Linked DNA regions of Homo sapiens: region 2 is linked to region 1. The links are contacts of gene promoters, found by promoter capture Hi-C in human tissues and cell types (Jung and others, 2019). All regions are on one chromosome and are shown on one strand. Each heading gives the region's core, a stretch centred on a gene start or on the middle of the fragment in contact. The rest is flanking DNA. Distances are from core to core; before and after follow the strand shown.

Region 1 (3,123 bases), core at 71-2,570:
GAGTTTGCAGTGAGCTGAGATCATGCCATTGCATTCCAGCCTGAGCGACCGACTGAGCGAGACTCCATCTCAAAAAACAAACAAAAAGAAAAAAAGAATACATCCATGGATGGATAATGAATGAGAGGTTGTTTATATTCACAGTTAACCCTCTCATCTCCAGTAATGCAACCATCTTCTTCCTGCTTAGCCTTTTGGAGATGCTGTCCCTTTAGTGGTCAAATTCTGAAGAAATCAGGAAATAATGCATTCGACATGCCCAGCACAAGTGAAGATCAGGCAGCAGAAATGCATTCGACCTGCCACCCATCCATCAGGAGACTATTTACTCCACTACTGTAGGGGATACTGACAAATTAAATCCATACCTAGTCCAGATATCAATTCCACAATTTTTTTTTTTTTTTTTTTGAGACGGAGTTTCGCTCTTGTTGCCCAGGCCAGAGTGCAATGGTGTGATCTTGGCTCACCGCAACCTCCACCTCCCAGGTTCAAGCGATTCTCCTGCCTTAGCCTCCAGAGTAGCTGGGATTACAGGCATGTGCCACCACACCCGGCTAATTTTGTATTTTTAGTAGAGATGGGGTTTCTCCATGTTGGTCAGGCTGGTCTCAAACTCCCGACCTCAGATGGCCCACCCGCCTCGGCCTCCCAAAGTGTGTAAGCCATGGCACTCAGCCTTTTTTTTTTTTTTTTTTTTTTTTTTTGAGATGGAGGCTCTCTCTGTTGCCCAGGCTGGAGTGCAATGCCTGACCTCAGCTCACTGCAACTTCTGCCTCCCAGTTTCAAGCAATTCTCCCACCTCAGCCTCCCACGTAGCTGGGATTACAAGCACCCGCCATCACGCCCGGCTAATTTTTGTAGAGATGGGGTTTCACCATGTTGACCAGGCTGGTCTTGAACTCCTGACCTCAGGTGATCCACCCACCTCGGCCTCCCAAGGTTGAGATTACAGGCGTGAGCCACTGTGCCTGGCCCACATTTTTTAAAAAAGGGGCAACTGCAGTGTAGTAGAACAAAGTTGTGACCAATGCTAGGATACTCTGTTCATTTCCTGACCCAGCCATGAATACACTGGAATAACTCATGCAAAATGCCAGCTCGCTGGCCCCCCGTTTCCCCACCCAACAAATGAAGGGGCTCTTACAGGTTCCTTTTTGTCCTGAAATTCATCACCAATGCAAATTTCTTAAAAATCCTTTGTCTGGCAGTCCATGCCTGTCCTTCAGCATTTCCCAGATCTGACCCTCAGGACTCACCAAGACAGAAGAGGGCGGTCGGGGATGGAGACATGGTTCCTCAGCCCTGTCCTGAGCTCTGTGGCCAGGGAGGGAAGTGGTGGGAGCCTGGGGCACAGGCTCAGGATGTGATGAGGATGAAGAATGCTCTCCTCCCTTCCTCCACCAGCCCCGGCCTTTCCTAATTGAGACTCATCGAGCCGTAGCCGGCTCCTCAGTACAGTGACTTGCACACAAGCTCCAAGGAGCCGCGCTTATCTCCTCTGGCCAGCCTGGCGTTGCACCGTTTGTCCGCCTGCTGGGGCCTGGTCTGTGTTCCCGTGCTCCCATAAACTCCCTGATGTCACTAGGAAAATACGCATCAAAACCACAGTGAGATATGACTTCACACCTTCTGGAATGGCTGTATTTTTTTTTTTTCTTTTGAGACAAAGTCTCGTTCTTTTTGCCCAGGTTGGAGTGCAGTGGCGCCATCTCGGCCCACTACAACCTCCACCTCCCAGGTTCAAGCGATTCTCCTGCCTCAGCCTCCCAAGTGGCTGGGATTATAGGTATGTACCACACCAGGCTAATTTTTGTATTTTTAGTAGAGATGGGGTTTCACTGTGTTGGCCAGGCTGGTCTTGAACTCCTGACCTCAGTTGATCCACCTGCCTCGGTCTCCCAAAGTGCTGGGATTACAGGCATGAGCCACTGCACCCGACCGGCTATAATTTTTTTTAATGGAAAACAGCAGATATTGGTGAGTATGCAGAGAAATTGAACTGCGCGTGCATTGCTGGCAGGGACGTAACATGGCGCCCCTGCTGTGGAAAACAGTTCCAGCAGCTCCTCCAGAAGTTAAACGTGGGATTGCCATAAAATCCAGCAATTCCACTTCGGGGTACACACCTAAAAGAACTGAAAACAGGGTCTCTAACATATTTGTACACAGTGTTCATAGCAGCTTTATTCACAATAGCCAAAAGGTGAAACCACCCACATGTCCATCAACAACAATGGATAAACAACATGTGGTATATACACACAAGGTAATATCAACCAGCCTTAACTAAAAGAATAAAAATCAGCCAGGCACAGTGGCTCACGCCTGTAATCCCAGCACTTTGGGAGGCCGAGGCGGGCGGATCACCTGAGGTCAGGAGTCCGAGACCAGCCTGGTTAACATGGTGAAACCCCATCTCTACTAAAAATACAAAAATTAGCTGGGCGTTAAATTAGCCGGGCATGGTGGCAGGTGCCTGTAATCCCAGCTACTTGGGAGACGGAGGCATGAGAATCGCTTGAACCTGGGAGGCAGAGATTGCGGTAAGCCGAGATCGCACCACTGCACTCCAGCCTGGGCGGCAGAGTGAGACTGTCTCAAAAATAAAAATAAGGCCGGGCGTGGTGGCCCATGCCTGTAATCCTAGTACTTTAGGAGGCTGAGGCAGGCAGATTGCCTGAGCTCAGCAGTTCAAGACCAGCCTGGGCAACACAGTAAAACCCCCAAAAAATACAAAAAAAAAATAGCCGGGCATGGCGGCAGGCACCTGTAGTCCCAGCTACTCCGGAGGCTGAGACAGGAGAATGGCTTGAACCCGGGACGCGGAAGTTGCGGTGAGCCGAGATCGCGCCATTGCACTCCAGCCTGGGTGACAGAGCGAGATTCTGTCTCCAAAAAATAAAAAATATTATAAAAGAATAAATTCAGATACATGCTACAACGTGATGGACCTTGAAGACATTATGCTAAAGGAAATATTCCGGACTTGACAGATAAATACTGCATTGTGCCGCTTATCTGAGGTATCGAGAGGAGTCAAATTCATAGAGACAGGGATTAGAATGGTGGTTGCCAAGGCCTGGGAAAAGTGGGGAGTTACTATTTAATAGGGAGCGCTTA
Region 2 (2,909 bases), core at 400-2,899, 45 kb after region 1:
ACGGGCGTTCTCTGGTCAGACTTCTGCGTTATGGAAGAGGGGCTGGGTCGGGGGCGGGGCTTGGTTGTGGGGCGTGGCCAGGTGTTTGGGGCGTGGCCTGATCTGGGGAAGTGTATAGGTGCTCAGGTTCAGGGCTTCGACGGGGATGGTTTTGGAACTCGGGAGCCCTGAGCGTCCCCCTCCTCTGTCCCCTAGGACATCCTGAACCACGTGTTCGACGACGTAGAGAGCTTTGTATCGAGGCTGCAGAAGTCGGCGGAGGCGGCCAGGGTGCTGGAGCACCGGGAACGCGGCCGCAGGAGCCGGCGCCGGGCGGCTGGGGGTAAGGGGCACCCTGGCGTGGGATCTGAACCCCCTCCCGATCTCTTCCAAATGTCCCCGCTCTCCCCAGGCTCTCCCCTCCCGCCACTTGCCAGGGCTGACCTCACCGCCATCTTAACCGGGTGTCCACCTCTCTCTGCCTGCCTGGTGCTGGCCCCGCGTCCCCATCGCCGCGCCCGTCTGCTCCCCTCAGAGGGCTTGCTGACGCTGCGGGCCAAGCCGCCCTCGGAGGCCGAGTACACCGACGTGCTGCAGAAGATCAAGTACGCCTTCAGCCTGCTGGTGAGGACGCGCCCGCCCCTGGGCCGGGGCGCGGGCACGACGAACCTGTCCCGTCCCCGCACCCACGCCAACCACCTCCCTCCCCACGCCCCAGGCCCGGCTGCGCGGCAACATCGCCGACCCCTCCTCTCCGGAGCTGTTGCACTTCCTTTTCGGGCCTCTGCAGATGGTGAGACCCGCCCCAGGCCCTCGGGCCCCCCTGCAGCGGGAGGAATCGGGTTCGACTTGTAGAAGGTGTGGCGGCACAGCCTGCCCCTCCTGCTCCCCTGACAGATTGTGAACACGTCGGGGGGGCCGGAGTTCGCGAGCAGTGTGCGGCGGCCGCATCTGACATCGGATGCCGTGGCGCTGCTGCGGGACAACGTCACTCCACGTGAAAACGAGCTCTGGACCTCGCTGGGGGACTCGTGGACCCGCCCCGGGTGAGGGGCGGGGCTGGGAGGCAGGGGGCATGGTGATTGGAGGAGCATAAGGCGCTGGGAGGTGGGTGGCATGATGATTGGAAAATAGGACTAGGAGAGTAGGGAGGGGTTAGAGGCGTGGCTTAGTTGTGTTGGGGCGGGGCTTAGGACAGATGCCAAGATTCAATTGGAGGAAAGGCCAGGAATTAACGTGAAGGAAAGATTTAAGACCACCAGACCAATCGGATTGAAAGAAAAGGGGGGCTTAAAGGAATAGAGGGGCTAGGGGCTACGGGGCAGGGGCGGGGCTACGCGAAGGGGCGGGGCTTCTGGAAGGTTTGGTCTATAACTTTGGTGATGGGACAGAGTCTGTGCACTGCGGGCTGGCAGTTCCGCAGGGAAAGGGTCAGAACCTGAAACCGACCTTACGGAAAACCTGATTTGGAATCAGGTGAGATTTAGAGGCTGGATAAGGCAATTTTTTTCCAGAGAGAGAGATGGATGGGGTCTCAATATTTTGCCCAGGCTGGTCTGGAACTCCTGGCCTCAAGCGATCCTCCCATCTTGGCCTCCCAAAATGCTGGGATTACAGGCGTGAGCCACCGTGCCCGGTCTAGAAATATAAATTGCTGTTGAGTTGGGCTTAGAGCTACCGGCAGGACTTGGTGAAAAGTGGCGGGGCTAGAATCGTTGGAATACAGCGAGCTTTAGGGGAAAACTTAGTGAAGTTAATGCAGGAACGAAGTTGGGGGCTGTATCAGGATCCCTGAGCTCTTGGCCCTGTCCCTGGCCGCAGGCTGGAGCTGTCCCCGGAGGAGGGACCCCCATACAGACCCGAGTTCTTCAGCGGCTGGGAGCCGCCGGTCACTGACCCGCAGAGCCGCGCCTGGGAGGACCCAGTTGAGAAACAGCTACAGCACGAGCGGAGGCGCCGGCAGGTGACCCAAGCGACACAGCAGGGCCGAGGCTGGGAAGTCCGGGGGCGCGGCCGGTCCGCCTGGCCCCGCCTGACCCGACTGTCTTACTTCCTACAGCAAAGCGCCCCCCAGGTCGCTGTCAATGGGTGAGTGTCCGCCCCAGGGCAGGGCAAGGGGGTCAAGGAGGGGTGCGTCCCGGGGGCTCCCGATGCTGACTCCGCCCCCTTTTTTTCTGTGTTTTTCCTTCTGTCTTCCTGGCTCTTCTCAGGTGGGTGAGATGGTGATGGGGCGGGCCGGGGCTGGGAGAGAGGGAGGAGCAGGGTGGGAGGGGGCGGGACCCAGACTTCTGGGGCTAAGGGAGTTGGGAATGGAGACCCGGATTCCTGGGCCTAAGGGAGGAAGGGGGCTGGGAGTGGGTAAAGTCTGAGAGGTTGGATCCCTGGATCCCCAAAAGGCTGGAAGAAGCCAGTTTGTTTTCCCAGGGCCTGGGAAGCACCATGCCTGGGCTCCCTAGGAGGACAGAGCCCTGGATATTGGAGGGGAGAGGCTGGGGAATTGGACCTTTGGGTTTTGAAGAAGAGCCCAAGTCTGGTGCTTGGGATCCTGGAGACCCAGAGGAGCAGGCTTGGGACTTCAAGGGCTTGGGGGCAAGTTTCTGGGAAAGTTAGGAAGTGGTAGTATCTCTGGGCCCCCGAGAGGGGTAAAGGCTGGACGATTAAACTCTTGGTTTTCCAGAGGCTCTAATGCAATTGTCTAAGTCGCTGCTGGGTGTCGGACTGGGTTAAAAGGTTTGAGGGTTAAAAGGATAAGATTGAAGCTTGAGACCTGGACTCCTAGGTCCCTGGGGGAGGAAAGAACATTCCAAGTCATGGTTCTACCAAGCAGTGGGGGCTCAGACTCTGGGTCCTGGGGGAGGGAAGGAGGTAGATGGACTAGAACTCTAGGGTCCTTGAGCAAATAGAGGGCAGACTGGAGGGAAGCAACGTGG

What was found. The method cuts DNA at HindIII sites, captures the fragments that hold promoters and counts their contacts. A contact is called where the count stands out against the background at its distance.
Region 2: a contact is called between a fragment that was not itself captured here and the fragment with the promoter of GP6 in region 1, in 1 of the 25 tissues and cell types used here (neural progenitor cells).

The regions. Positions count from the first base shown.
Region 1 is chr19:55,036,944-55,040,066 of GRCh38, forward strand. It overlaps GP6 (glycoprotein VI platelet), which reads right to left and starts at 1,321. Exons shown (of 8, transcript NM_016363.5): 1 at 1,260-1,321. The coding sequence starts at 1,293. All of the region lies in intron 2 of GP6-AS1 (GP6 antisense RNA 1), which reads left to right. It also overlaps a transcript of RDH13 not described here. The HindIII fragment of the contact is 34,893 bases long and covers 1-3,123 here.
Region 2 is chr19:55,081,578-55,084,486 of GRCh38, forward strand. EPS8L1 (EPS8 signaling adaptor L1) reads left to right here. Exons shown (of 20, transcript NM_133180.3): 9 at 196-322; 10 at 515-603; 11 at 698-772; 12 at 877-1,025; 13 at 1,801-1,942; 14 at 2,039-2,067. Among named protein-coding and RNA genes, the nearest start is that of EPS8L1, 7.2 kb to the left of the region's middle. The HindIII fragment of the contact is 6,949 bases long and covers 1-2,909 here.